3 separate regions of the Homo sapiens genome follow, and regions 2 and 3 are each linked to region 1. The links are contacts of gene promoters, found by promoter capture Hi-C in human tissues and cell types (Jung and others, 2019). All regions are on one chromosome and are shown on one strand. The core of a region is centred on a gene start or on the middle of the fragment in contact, and the rest is flanking DNA. Distances in the headings are between cores, read along the strand shown. Region 1 holds the start of EZR (ezrin). Region 2 holds the start of SERAC1 (serine active site containing 1). Region 3 overlaps GTF2H5 (general transcription factor IIH subunit 5).

Region 1 (4,823 bases), core at 1,302-3,801:
GGCTCACGCCTGTAATCCTAGCATTTTGGGAGGTCGAGGTAGGCAGATCACCTGAGGTCAGGAGTTTTAGACCAGCCTGGCCAACATGGTGAAACCCCCTCTCTATAAAAATACAAAAACCAGCTGGGCATGGTGGCACATGCCTGTAATCCCAACTACTCGGGAGGCTGAGGCAGGAGATTCGCTTGAACCTGAGAGGCAGAGGTTGCAGTGAGCCGAGATCATGCCACTGCACTCCAGCCTGGGCCACAGAGAGAGACTCCGCTCCCCCATCCCCCACAAAAGGCACACAAGCATTGATTACAGAACCAACTTGTTTGAAAAACCAAAAAAAAATTCCAGATGTATCTGTAATCCCAATTTGTAATGAATCCTGATATTTTGTCCATTGTGATTCAAAACTCAAAAAATGTTAAACCTTCCCCCTAATGTCTAGTCACCAGTTCCCCAGTGTTAAAAGCAGGTAGAATACATACAACTTTCTAAGAAGCGTCAGTCCCAGAGAACCTGCCTTGTGCCTACAACCCCCAGGTCTCGCCAGCAATCTCAACACAATCAGATTCAAGGAGACAGAGGCGCAGGCACAGCCCTTTCATCAGCTGACCAGGAGTGCTCGGCCCGGCCTGCCAGGAACCTCTTATCAAACTCCACCGGCTGCCTGCATCTACAATTCAAGTCCATGGCTAACCTTCTGTTAGAGACAGAAATTCTGCTGCAGCCAGCAAGTTTGCTGGTGTACAGGGCACCGCTTCATGGGCCTAGTAGGAAGCGAAGCTGAAAGGCAACTTCCGAAAGCCAGTCTCCTCTCCCAAACGCCCTTTAATATCTCCCCAGTTGGATCTGGGGCGCCTGTGGTTTCGGACCCTTAGGAGCTCTGAGAACTGGTGTGTGTGGTCGGAAGCCATCTGAGTCTCCCTGTGATTTGGACTTTTTAAGAAACTTCTAAGTTGTATTACTATACCCTTTAAAAACAGACGGAAGCAGTGTAAAAAGGCCTCTAGTTTTTAGAAAAGACCGTAACTACTGGGGAGGGGGCTCACAAAGAAAAAGACTGCAGAGAAAAGCATCAAAATGGTGTTTTCCTAACGCTCCACAAAAGGGTCAACAAGTAACAAAGAGCGGCGAAAACCTCCTCCTATTCCTATCGTCTTCTGCGTGTGAGAAGAACCCTGTTCCCCAGGAACTGCCCCAACACCTCGAGCAGGTGCCTCCCCTCTCCAATGAAGCCTCTCCCGTCCGCCCGGCCCAGAAACTGGGCAACTTACTGGTTTCGGCATTTTCGGTTTCTGGTGAGTATCCTCGATCCCCGAAAACACGACTATCCAGCAGCAGCGAAGACGCTGTCCCAACCTGGAGTCAGAGCAGAACCCTTAGAGCGCCCGCCCGCCCTGCCTCGTCCTCCTGCCGCGCCCGACACTCGGCGCCCGCAGCGCGCTGCCGCTTAAGAACCGGCCAGCCCGGGCCCGGGTGAGTCAGCGCCCCGCCCAGCACTGCGGGCATGGGGAGGGGGCACGGGCGGGGCGGGGCCGGGCCGGGCCCCCGGCGAGGAGGCGCCCGAGAGCGGGGGCGCGCGCCCAAGGGGCAGCCGGCGGGCACTGGAGGTGCCCCCCAGTTGGGGGTGGGTCCGAGGAGAGGGGGTGCGCACCCAGGGGACCCCCAGCATGAAGGGGCTGGTGGGGGGCGCAGGCCCGGGAGAGAGAGGGCAGGGGGAACACTCAGTGGGGAGGATCGGGGGGAGGGGGCGCGGGCCCCGGGGAACACTCGGCCAGGAGGGTCAGGGGAGAGAGCGCCGGCCGGGCGGGGAGGGGTCTGGGGGACACTCGAGGTGCACCCAGCGGAGAGAGGCGGAGAAGAGGGGGCGCGGGCCCAGGGATACCCGGCGGGGAAAGGCCCGGGGAGAGGGAGCGCGCGCCTGGGAGAGAGAGGGCGAGGGGCAGGAGGAACACCTAGGAGGAAGGAGTCCCGGGACAGCCAGCGCGAGCCCGCGGGGCACCCGACAGGGAGGGGTCAGGGGAGAGGGGGCACAGGGCGGGCGGGGGGGCACTCGCTGGGGAGGGATCCGTGGAGAGGGGGCGCGGGCTCGGGGTCCGCCGAGGAACTTCCCGGGGCTGCCAGGAAGCCCGTGAGAAGCCGAGCACTCGGCAAGTTTCACTTTGTGTAGCAACCGTTGCCCCGCGGCTGCAGTCACAACCGTCAAGCCTTTGAGAAACTCTTTCAAAAACTGCAACCGCTCGGGAGCCGCCGAGGGACGGCGCCCAGGCACCCAGGCTCCGCGTTTCCTTCGGGAGAGACCTGAGGGGACCCGGCGCCGAGGGGAAGGTCGCGGGGCCGCGGGCCGGCTCAGCTCCACCTGCCCCGGGGGTGCCGGGCGAGAACCCCGCGCCGCGCCCCCTAGGCTGCCCGCCGCACCTGCCGCCGAACCCCGCCGCCCGCCCGGGCCCTCCACCAGGAACCCCCCGCCCAGAACCCCCGTCCCGACCCCGGCCGCCGCACGCCTCACCCGGCGCCTGCAGTGCTCCGTGTGCTCCCCGCCGCCCTTGCGTCCGCCGAGTGCGCTCGCTGCCCGCGCTCCCAAAAGCCCCGGCGGGGCGGGTCCCGGGACCACGCCCCTTCCCGCCCAGCTCCCGACCTGTGAGGTGCGCCCCCCGCAAGATGGCGGCAGCCGGGCCTCGGGCTGGGTGGGGGCGGAACTTGGCGGAAGTGCGCGCTACTCCCCTCGCAGATGCAAGTGGGGAGGCTGTTTGTCCCACAGCGGGCAGGGGGAAGTCAGGAAAACGTAAATAAATCTGGAGGGGCGGACGGCTTGGGGGAATCGCTGGACCGCTTGGGGCCGGGACCGGGGGCCAGTTCCGAGGCCTCGGCCCTGGGGCGGCTGCACCTGGCCCCGAGTCTCGGTGCACGTGGCCGGCCCAGCCGCCGCCTTTCCGAAGCTCTGGTTAAGTGGCACGTTTGTGGCCTCTTTTGACGTGACTGGCAAAAAGCTCCATGGGATTTCTCTGAAATTCTAGGAATTAAGTTTTTTTGTTTGTTTTTTTGCTAATGGTTCTCAACAAATTTTTAAGACACACAAAACACATACTTTGGGGGCCAGTAGAATTTGCTGCGGGAGAGCTCACTCTAGAAGGGGTTCTCAACGTCTGGCTTCCAGACGAGCAGCAACAGCATTCACTGGGAACTTGCATAAGTGGAAATTAGGTGTTGCTCAGCCTTAGGATTCAGAAACTCTAGGGCTGAGCCCAGCAATCAGTGTGTTACAAGCCCTTCGGGTGATTGTGATGTTGGCTAAAGGTTGAGACCAGAGCTTCTCCTGAATTCCTCTCCTGGGTTTACTCCTCCCTTTCTGCTTTTAGTTTTCTTGTTTGTAAAGCGGCATAATTATGGCACCTGTATCAGAGGGTTCTAATGAGGATAATGAGTTAGTACATGTACGATGCCTGGAACAGTACCTGACACTTAGTAAGCACTTAAATCTATCCTGGTAGAAAGAGAAACCAATGACTTTGGGCGAAGTTCCAAACTCTGTTTCCCAATTTGTTGAGTGAACATACTAGTAGCCCCACCTACATAGACTTGTAAGGATTAAATGAGATCGTGCATGTGGAATGCTTAACTCGTGCTAGCCTCATAGTAATTGATGCTTAACCTGTCTTCCTAGGGACACACTGCTGTTTGGGCAACCCTTTGTCAGGGCCTGTTATCTCCCACTTGCAGATCCAGGGCATTTCAGAGGTCAGAGAGAGGAGGGAGGCCTCTTCTGAGATTTTGACCTCTATTCAGGTAAGTGTATTCCCTCTGAAAGACTGAACTTTTCTTTCCCTTTTTTTTTTAGACGGAGTTTTGCTCTTCTTGCCCAGGCTGGAGTGCATTGGCGCAATCTCAGCTCATTGCAACCTCCATCTCCCAGGTTCAAGCAATTCTCCTGCCTCAGCCTCTTGAGTAGCTGGGATTACAGACACCCGCCACCAAGCCCAGCTAAATTTTTGTATTTTTAGTAGAGACGGGGTTTCACCATGTTGGCCAGGCTGGTTTTGAACTCCTGACCTCAGGTGATCTGCTCACCTCGGCCTCCCAAAGTGCTAGGATTACAGGCGTGAGCCATCACTCCTGGCCTGAATTTCTTTTTTATTAAAATGAAGTTATAGGCCGGGCGCTGTGGCTCATGCCTGTAATCCCAGCACTTTGGGAGGCCGAGGCAGGTGGAACACCTGAGGTCAGGAGTTCAAGACCAGCCTGACCAACATGGAGAAACCCCGTCTCTACTAAAAATACAGAATTAGCTGGGTGTGGTGGCGCACGCCTGTAGTCCCAGCTACTCGGGAAGCTGAGGCAGGAGAATGGTGTGAACCCGGGAGGCAGAGCTTGCAGTGAGCTAAGATCGCACCATTGCACTCCAGCCTGGGCAACAAGAGTGAAACTCCGTCTCAAAAATAAATAAATAAATAAATAAAATGAAGATATAATGGTAACTGCAGTAGAAAGAAAACTATGAAAGATATTTAAATTACCTGCACTGATAATGTTTCCAACTGGACATCAATACCTCCACTGCCTTATCACTGCCTGGAGCCTGGTTAGCCAGTTTGGGTTCCCAACTCTCATAATAGGATATGCCTCTAATCTAATTTTTATCTCGCTCCATTTGAAGTATACTGTCTTCTAAATTGAATGTTTGAAATAGCGGTGCCCCAAGACCTTGAAGAGCATTTCTGAACTTTACCCTTTAGGGGAATGCCAAAAAATGAAGTGGCCTGTGGCAGTGTGGTAAAAATGAAACGGCCAGGTGCGATGATTCAAGCCTGTAATCCCAGCACTTTGGGAGGCTG
Region 2 (4,823 bases), core at 2,084-4,583, 650 kb before region 1:
GCTAGAATGAGCAACTGACAGTTTGAATTAAAGCAGTCATCTTAACACCAAGCATCTTATTAAGGACGGTAGAGCAGCCAGATAGAAGAATCCGAGTCCCTGATGATTACAGAGCTGCTTCCATAAAAGCATGGCTGCCTACCTATGCAATTACATACATATTTAAGCCAGTATTATCTTGTTTTCTGTGTAACACAGCTGATTCCAACACACCACAGTTTTTTGTTTTTTGGTTTTTTTTTTGAGACAGAGTCTCTCACTCTGTCACCCAGGCTGGAGTGCAGTGGCGCGATCTCGGCTCACTGCAAACTCCGTCTCCCAGGTTCACACCATTCTCCTGCCTCAGCCTCCCAAGTAGCTGGGACTACAGGCGGCTGCCACCACGCCCAGCTATTTTTTTGTATTTTTAGTACAGACGGGGTTTCACCGTGTTATCCAGGATGGTCTCAATCTCCTGACCTCGTGATCCACCCGCCTCGGCCTACCAAAGTGCTGGGATTACAAGCGTGAGCCACCGTGCCCGGCCCAGTTCTTAATATCTATATGCCAGTGATCTCAGAGTACCTCTAGCTACGATCTTTCCTGACCTATCTATCCAACAGCTATTGGAACATTTCCACTTGGATGTCCAACAGGCCTTTCATACTCAACTGTCCAAAAGAGAATTCTTTACTTTTTCTCCCCAAACTCTTCCTCCACAAATCTTCTCCATCACTATCCATCAAATGGTCAATGCTTTTTGATTGTAAATGGTAAATGATCTACCTCTTAACTGAAGCAAAAAAACAGATGTTGCCCTTGATTCCTTGTTTTCCCCTTACTCTACATCTAAACCACGCAGAGTTGCTCTTCTCTACCATCAAAACATACCCCCAAATCCATCCATTTTTCTCTGTATTCACTGCTACACTCTTGTCTAGTTCAAGCCAACATCATCTCTCATTTGGAGTAATAAAATGACACCTCAAAGGTGCTTTTTGTAACTTAAGAAATCCTTCTCAGAGACATTTAAAAAAAAAGTTCTGGAGATAGATAGTAGTGCTGGTTGCACAATGTGAATGTCACTGAACTCAACAACTCAACATGGTTAACATGATAAATCTTATGTGTAACAAGATTTAACAAAGCAAACAAAAAAGAAATCTTTCCTAGAGACAATGGTCTCTTATATTCCTTTCCAAATACCTTGCAGCTGTGCCATTCACATTTAGGTCTTTATCTGGAAACTGTTGTCAATAGTTTGAAAGTAAGAATCTAATCCTGTCTGTATACCATAACAATGCCAGATATCTCAGCAACCATATATTTCATCATCCTTTATTGAATAGTCTATGCTTTCCCCCTGCTTTGCAATACCACTTAGTGGTATACTAAACTCCCGTATGTAAATAGGTATGTTTCTAGTGTCTCTATTCTGTTCCATGAATCTAATTCTCTATCCCTGAATCAATATCATACCATCTTAATAATTACAACTTTATATTAAGCTTTGGTATCTGATAGGGAGAGACCTTATTTTTCTTCTTCTTCAAAATTGACTTCACTATTCTTGGTCCCTTGCCTTTCCATATAAATTTTAAGTTCAGCATGGCAAATTCCATAAAACAATATGGTGATTTTAATTGGCATTACACTGAATTCGTAGAACTGAGGAAAACTGACATCTTTTTGTTGAGTCTTTCCATCTATTAATACGGTATATCTCACCATTTACTTGGGTCATCTTTTGTGTTCCAACAGAGCCTTACAATTTTCTGTCTAAAGGACTACACAGCTTTAGGTTCATCTATTTCTAGGTACCTTTAGTTTTGAATGCCATTATGAATAGTGTCTTTTTATTATTAAAACTCCTAGTTAATTGTTACTGGTATACAGAAGTTTTTAAATGCAGAAATTAAGGCCATTTCTGACATCCCCCTGGCCAAAATAACCCCTCTAGTCACTCTTTATCACATCACCAAATGGTACTTATTCCTTAACTGATTTCAGAGTCTCTCTGCCCCCACCAAAATTAGTTACCTGTTCACCATTGTATCCCAAGCGTCTAGAATAATAGCTGACACACATCAAGTGCACAAAAATGGAACTGATGAGATCAAGGAAGAGAATGTATGCAAGATGAAAAAAAGCAAATAAAAGATACTTGGGAAGAAGAAGACTTGGAGGCAATTTTTTTATTTTAAAGAGAGTGCAACAATATGGAAATCACCAGTTGGAAAAGATTTGAGGGATAGAAAGAGGGAACTAAATGGAAGAGCTGGGTTCCTTAGCGATCACATGAACACACACGATGTTAAAAAAAAAAAAAAAAAAAAAAAGGCAGCATGAGGTCGGGCGCGGTGGCTCACACCTGTAATCGCAGCACTCTGGGAGGCCGAGGCGGGGGATCACCTGATGTCAGGAATTCCAGACCAGCCTGGCCAACATGGACAAACCCCGTGTCTACTAAAAATACGAAAATCAGCCGGGCGTGGTAGCGCACGCCTGTAATCCCAGTTACTAGGGAGAATGAGGCAGGATAATTGCTTGAACCCAGGAGACGGAGGTTGCAGTGAGCCCAGATCGCGCCACTGCACTCCAGCCTGGCAGACAGACCGAGACTCCATCTCAAAAAAAAAAAAAAAAAAGGCAGCATGAGCTTAATGCGGGAAGTACAATTTAACCTAAGGAACAGAAAACAAGAATCTCATATCTCAACTAGTAAAAATAATGACAGTGTTCCTTTAGACTTACAGAACAGACTTGGGGAAAGGGAGTAACTTTAGAACCTTCTGGGGTCTTTCACTTTAAAATGACCGTTGCCGAGTTTAGAGCTCTCTCAGCATTCAATCTATTCCATCTCTGGGGTTAGAGAGGGAGCAGGAAGCGGTGGTCTGCAAGGCTCAGAAGTGACTGGTGAGGCCCTTTCCTCCTCCTCCTCATCTCTCCGTGACTACCGAGCCCGGGAAGACGGACCGGCAGGTGCACTCCCCAAGGCCTCGACAGCAGCCAGAGAAAGGCAGCGACAGGGAAAGACGAGTCAGGCTCGCGACCACCAGAGAGAGAGGCCCTCACGCCCAGCCGAGCGTCAGCTGGTCGGTCCGGTCCGCGCGCCAGACGGCGGTGCTCGGCCGTGCCCGGTCCCTGCCCTCCCCATTCTCCGCTCCCCACCGCGCCCAGCTGCGCCGACGCCCCCGTCCGCCCCCACACCACCCCTGCCTTCACGTCCTACCTGCCGGCAGGCGGACTCAGCCCGTGCCCAACTGCTCGTCGGACCCCGTTGTCTGGGGAGCCCTACTCTTTCCGCGGCTCCCGGCCGGGACCCTCCACCCGGCGGCTGGCGGCTCGTGACCCCGCCCCCTCGGCCCGCTCTGGGCCCGCCTCCCGCCGGCTGGCTCCACCCACAATAGCGTCCCTAGCGCGATGGCGTATCGGCGCAGGCGCACTCTGCCGGCAACGCCGAGGCGCTTCTGCATCTGTGGGCCGAGGTGTGTGGCGAGCGTCCGAGCGGCTGGGGAAAGTGGGGTGTGGGAACACTGAGGGGTCCCAAAGAAAGGGGAGAGGAAGAGAAAAGCCCCAGAAGCCTGTCCACCGGGTGCTGGGGGCACAGGGCGGTGTCCCCCACTCTCTCCGGGCCCTTCCTGGCGGGGCCGCACGGCAGTCCCCCCCTCGTTTAATCGTGGGTTTCCTGTGGGGCTAGGGCTCGCCCTGCGCCCAGGTGTAAGTGGAAGTTAATTAAATGGGCGTACGCTGAGTGGTTTGTTTCCAGCCTAGGTCCGCACGGGACGTGATTTATTTAGTGAAGGGGCACAAGATCTGGAGATCTGGCTTGTACTTTTTTCCTTTGGCCAGGAACTACGGCTTAATCTCTTCCTTTGGTCTCCTCATATGTAAAATGAGGTGGCTGAGGCCGGGCGCGGTGGCTCACGCCTGCAATCCCAGCACATTGGGAGGCCGAGGCGGGCAAATCACTTGAGGCCAGGAGTTCGAGACCAGCCTGGCCAACATGGTGAAACCCCGTCTCCACTAAAAATACAATAAATTGGCCTGGCGCGGTGGCTCACACCTGTTGTCCCAGCACTTTGGGAGGCCGAGGTAGGTGGATCATTTGAGATCAGGAGTTCGAGACCAGCCTGGCCAACATGGTGAAACCCTGCCTCTACTAAAAATACAAAATTTGGCCTGGCGTGGTGGCGGGCGCCTGTAGTCCCCGCTGCTTGGGAGGCTGAGGCAGGAGAATCGCTTGAGCCCGGGAGGCAGAGGTTGCAGTGAGCCGACATCACGACACTGCGCTCCAGCCTGGGCGACAGAGTGAGACTCTGTCTCGAAGTGTATATATACATATATATATATTATATATGTATTTTATATATAATATATATTTATTTTATATATAATATATAATATGTATATTATGTATATTATATATAATACGTATATTATATATAATACATATATATAATATGTATATTATATATTATATATAATATTATATTGTATATTATATATTATATATAATATATTGTATATTATATATATTATATATTATATATATTATATTGTATATTATATATAATATATTGTATATTATATAATATATTGTATATTATATATAATATACAGTATATTATATATAATATACTGTATATTATATATAATATATTGTATATTATATATAATATATTGTATATTACATATATTGTATATTACATATAATATATTGTATATTACATATATTGTATATTACATATAATATATTGTATATTATATAATATATAATATATATTATATAATATATTGTATATTATATATTATATAATATATTGTATATTATATATTATATA
Region 3 (4,823 bases), core at 712-3,211, 620 kb before region 1:
TTTTGATAGAATCCCAGAGTTCAAAAGGTATTAGGATTTTTGCCACTGAAGTAAAAAAGAGAAAAAAAGATATTTATGAGAAAACTATTGAACAGTGACTGTGTTGTACCCGAGCAAGTTAGAGGAACGCCACACTTTGAGACGAATTTAAAAGTCCTTTATTTAGCTGGCAGCCAAGAGGTGGCTCACACTTGGAATTCTCTCAGCTCCGAGGAAGGGGCTTGATTTTCCTTTATACTTTGGTTTAGGAAGGGGACGGGAGCTCAGTTGCAACAATTCTACAGAAGTAAAAACATGCAAAAAATTAAAAAGACAAATGGTTACAGAGAAACAAACAGTTCCAGGTGCAGGGGCTCTAAATCTATCATAAGATGTCAGGTGTGGGGGCTCTGCCAGACACAAACTCAAGGCTTTATGGTGTATCTCTTGAGCGAAATCCTGGGAACTTCGTACATTGCTTGCTTCAGTACCTTATGAGTTAATTGGACTCTTTGATATGTTGAGAGTCAGCTTACACAAGTTAACTCCTTGAGGAAAGGGGGTGGGTAAGGAGTCCTTGATGTCCTGTAAATGAAGGAACCAAATGGAGTTCCTCCGGCTTTCTCAGCTAAGGGAGAGCTTATTCACATGGAAACAAGGCTAGGTGATTAAGGGAGAAAGGGACAGTCTGAAAACAAGGTTAGTAAAAACAAGGTTAGGTATTAGAACTGCAAAGAGTATTAAGTGAAATAAGTGAAGGAAAATATGAGCTCTTATTTTTAAAAAGTTGTGTTGGGGCAAATGTTAAATATCTTTCTTTCTCTGGACATTATTAAGAAAGATAGAGTGATGTGAATGATAGGAAGCCCACCTGTAACCACTTAGCTGACATGTCCAACTATGGGTGAACAGGAAATAAGCGACATTCACCTAGGCTGTTTATTGGAATCTGACTAGCATTATTTGATTTGGCATACTTTACATGTCCAGAACAAGGCTGTTGGTGCTTGGCACCAAGAAATTTATGACTTTTTTTTTTTTTTTAAATAAAGTCCTAAAGGTAGCATTAAAATGACTTAACTGGAGGCAGGAGGATCACTGAAGCCCAGGAGTTTGAAGCTGCAGTAAGCTAAGAAGGTGCCACTGCACTGCAGCCTGGATGACAGAGTGAAACTTTGTCTCTTAATAGAACTATGGACTGAAGTTGTGATATTGAGTGTTATATTTCTCAATAAAGGTTTTTTCTTTTAATACTGTATTAGGTCAAATTCAAGGTCTTAATTCCTTGAATTCCAATTTCCTTGTGAAATTTCATGTGATTAATTTAAAATTCCAGGGATCCTATCTAACATCACAGTTGATGGATATAACAATGTATTTTGAGAAATCAGTTTTGGTGAACAGTAACAGCATTACTGATAATAGGCAACAAACACTACTGCATTTTATTTCTGATAGGCATTATAGGTGGTAATCCAAATGATTAATGATTTTATTGCTCTTTACATTTTCTAGAACAGGTGATTTGACATAATTGTACTTTTTTCTGAGAAGTTGGTAGTGTACTTACTACTCTATTTTGCAGTTATACAATAAATCTTACTTAGCTGACAACTAGGAGTAAAAGCTCTGACAAAAAGCCTCTGCTGTAACTAAAATACTGAGATCATTCTATCTTAACAAACTTAACAGATGGGGAAGGGGTATATTTTAAAGATGGAGAAATGATGCAGTTTGCAAATATAGTCAATAAATATTCTCAAGTGTACGTAGCTCAATTTCATTTGCAGCAAAGATAACACTGAAATGTCTATGGATGAGATTATTGGATAAACTTTTTTAAAAACACTGTTCTCAAGATAGGCAAGTGATTAAGAGCACTGACTGGGCCGGGCGCGGTGGCTCACGTCTATAATCCTAGCACTTTGGGAGGCCGAGGCGGGCAAATCACAAGGTCAGGAGATCAAAACAATCCTGGCTAACAAGGTGAAACCCCGTCTCTACTAAAAATACAAAAAAATTAGCTGGGCATGGTGGTGGACGCCTGTAGTCCCAGCTACTCGGGAGGCTGAGGCAGGAGAATGGTGTAATCCCGGGAGGTGGAGGTTGCAGTGAGCCGAGATCGTGCCACTGCACTCCAGCCGGGGTGACAGAGCGAGACTCCCACCCATCTCAAAAAAAATAAAAATGAAAAGCACTGATTGAATCTAGATTCCTTGAGTCCAAGTGTCAGATCTCTGCTTACTAGCTCTGGGATCTCAGATGTTTCGTTGATTGGATTTCTTTGTGCTCATTTGTGTAAACAGGAATGCCCGTCTTTAAAGACTATTAAAATGAATGTGAGTTAACACACAAGAGGTCTTCAAAAAGTTGATGGAAAATGCATATTATGAAAAAAATTATGCATAGATTTCAAAAATCTTTGCAGCAAAATAAACTCATCATTATAACATGTCTGAACAGGATCTAGTTTGAGGCACTAAGAAGGATATCAGTTTAAATAGAGCCCCTGTCAGAACAATATGAATTCTGCTAAAACTGAAGCAAGAACAAACATCAAATTTATGGCAAAGCTTAGGTGGAAGAATGGTGCAATCATTGATGCTTTGCAAAAAGTTTATGGGAACAACGCCCCAAGGAAATCAGTTTACAAATGGATAATTCATTTTAAGAAAGGACAAGACAATGTTGAAGATGAAACCTACAGCAGCAGACCATGCCACTTCGTGAGGAAAAAATTATCTCATTCATGCCCTACTTGAAGAGGACCAATGATTAACAGCAGAAACGATAGCCAACACAATATGCTCCTCAGTTGGTTCAGCTTTTATAAATCTGACTGAAAAATTAAAGTTGAGCACACTTTCCACTCAATGGATACCAAAACCATCCAGCCCAGGTCAGCTGCAGACAAAAGCAGAGCTTTCGATGGAAATGTCAAACAAGTGAGATCAAGATCCTGAAGCATTTCTTCAAAGAATTGTAGCAAAAACAGACTTTTAAAACCTTGAATTCAGAGACAGGTATAAAGACTGCTTGGTGATTTTGAAAGGACTGAGATCATTTTGGGAGAGATCATCTTCAGAAAATGACCAGATACAACAAGAATTTAACATGGCAGCCAAACCAACCCACTAACACACATTTAAATAAGATACCCAAATGCAGAAAGAAAAGCACAGTCGTCATGCAAAATAGTCACTACTCATTCAAAAACTCTATAGTTGTCTGAGTCGTTATGCTCAAAATATCCAATAATATTTCTTTTGCTGAGCTGTAAAATAATTATTTTGCAAACATAAAAGAAAAAAAAAAGAATTGTAACAGAAACATGGCTTTACCAGTATGACCCTCAAGACAAAATACAAAACAATGGCTACCAAGAGGTGGAAGTGGCCCAGTCACAGCAAGAGCAGATTGATCAAGAGCAAAGGTCATGGTAACAGTTTTTTGGATCCTCAAGTCATTTTGCTTGTTGACTTTTTGGAGGGCCAAATAAAGATATCATCTGCTTATTATGAGAGTGTTTCGAGAGAAATCCAAAGCTTAGCAGAGAAACGCCTGGGAAAGCTTCACCAGAGGGTCTTCCACCGTGACAGTTCCCCTGCGCATTCCTCTCATAAAGCAAGGGCAGTTTAGCTAGAATTTCTATCAAAAATCATTAGGTATCCATCTCCCAGTCCTGATTTGGCTCCTTCTGACTTCTTTTTGTTTCCCAATCTTAAAAAAATCCCTGAAGGGCACCTGTTTTTCTTCAGCTAATAAAAAAGACATGGTTAATTTCCCAGGACCCTCAGTTCTTTAGGGATAGACTGAATGGCTGGTATCATTGCTTGAACTTAATGGAGCTTATGTTGAGAAATAAAAGAAATTATATTTTATTTTTATCTTTTAATTCTATTTTTCCATGAACTTTTTGAAGTCCCCTCAGATATAAAGCAGAACGTTATGAAACTGAGTTACCTTGAATCTAGAAGAGTACAATGATAAAGGGGAAGATAGAAACACACACATATGCGTTGTTTTCCCCACTTTCACAATGCCGTGCAGAAACTAACAGATGAAGGAGGAGAATCCCTAAAAACAGAGCATTGGGTAGCTAGTCCACCAGCGGTCTGATGCTTTCATTGATCTCAAAACTGTCTCTGAGTAACTCTACCAGGAAAGTTGTCTGGAGGGTTAACATTTCTGAAACCATTTTTATCTTTGCCTTCATTCTTGAATGATAATTAGTCTCGAATGTTTGGATCACAATCCATTGAAAGACTAGGCTATTTTTTCACTGTCCTCAGACATTTACTGAGTCCAGTTTGGACTTTATTTTATTTTATTTTTTTTGAAACAAGATCTCGCTCTGTTGCTCAGGCTGAAGTGCAATAGCGCAAACTCGGCTCACTGCAACCTCCCAGGTTCAAGCAATTCTCGTGCCTCAGCCATCCCTATAGGCATGCGCCACCACACTTTGCTAATCTTGTATTTTTGGTAGAGACGGGGTTTGCACCATGTTGGCCAGGCTGGTCTCGAACTCCCAACCTCAAGTAATCTGGCCTCCCAAAGTGGTGGGATTACAGGCGTGAGCCAGCGCGCCCGGCCTGGACTTAACTTCTGAAGAACTCTTTCTGTTTAGATTGCAGGAGCGTTCTCTCGGCTCATCTCTTGTTTTCTCACCCAGCTGTTCTTCTTCTAGTTGGCCATCATTCTTCATCCCTCCCTCCCTTTCCTGCAGTTAATTATTTCTTTGAAATTTTAAAACTTCTTAATGTTGCCTGGAATACATGAGTCTTCCTGATCTCTTCAAACGGGGTTTGTTTTGTTTTGCTTTGGGGAGAATTCTTTTGACGTTT

What was found. Contacts are between HindIII fragments. The study calls those that stand out against the background at their distance.
Region 2: the fragment with the promoter of SERAC1 here is called in contact with the fragment with the promoter of EZR in region 1 in 2 of the 25 tissues and cell types used here (H1 embryonic stem cells and IMR-90 fibroblasts).
Region 3: a contact is called between a fragment that was not itself captured here and the fragment with the promoter of EZR in region 1, in 1 of the 25 tissues and cell types used here (lymphoblastoid cells).

Annotation. Positions count from the first base shown.
Region 1 is chr6:158,816,817-158,821,639 of GRCh38, forward strand. EZR (ezrin) reads right to left here and starts at 2,552. Exons shown (of 14, transcript NM_001111077.2): 1 at 2,501-2,552; 2 at 1,266-1,350. The coding sequence starts at 1,277. EZR-AS1 (EZR antisense RNA 1) reads left to right here and starts at 1,163. Exons shown (of 3, transcript NR_102425.1): 1 at 1,163-1,289; 2 at 3,656-3,777. RefSeq lists enhancers at 484-653, 1,136-1,185, 4,707-4,806 and silencers at 1,396-1,595, 1,736-2,725, 2,786-2,835. The HindIII fragment of the contact is 16,325 bases long and covers 1-4,823 here.
Region 2 is chr6:158,164,929-158,169,751 of GRCh38, forward strand. It overlaps SERAC1 (serine active site containing 1), which reads right to left and starts at 3,334. Exons shown (of 17, transcript NM_032861.4): 1 at 3,212-3,334. It overlaps GTF2H5 (general transcription factor IIH subunit 5), which reads left to right and starts at 3,422. Exons shown (of 3, transcript NM_207118.3): 1 at 3,422-3,467. RefSeq lists silencers at 3,132-3,201, 3,242-3,421. The HindIII fragment of the contact is 17,979 bases long and covers 1-4,823 here.
Region 3 is chr6:158,194,134-158,198,956 of GRCh38, forward strand. It overlaps GTF2H5 (general transcription factor IIH subunit 5), which reads left to right. Exons shown (of 3, transcript NM_207118.3): 3 at 1-4,823. Among named protein-coding and RNA genes, the nearest start is that of GTF2H5, 28 kb to the left of the region's middle. RefSeq lists an enhancer at 238-838. The HindIII fragment of the contact is 3,149 bases long and covers 388-3,536 here.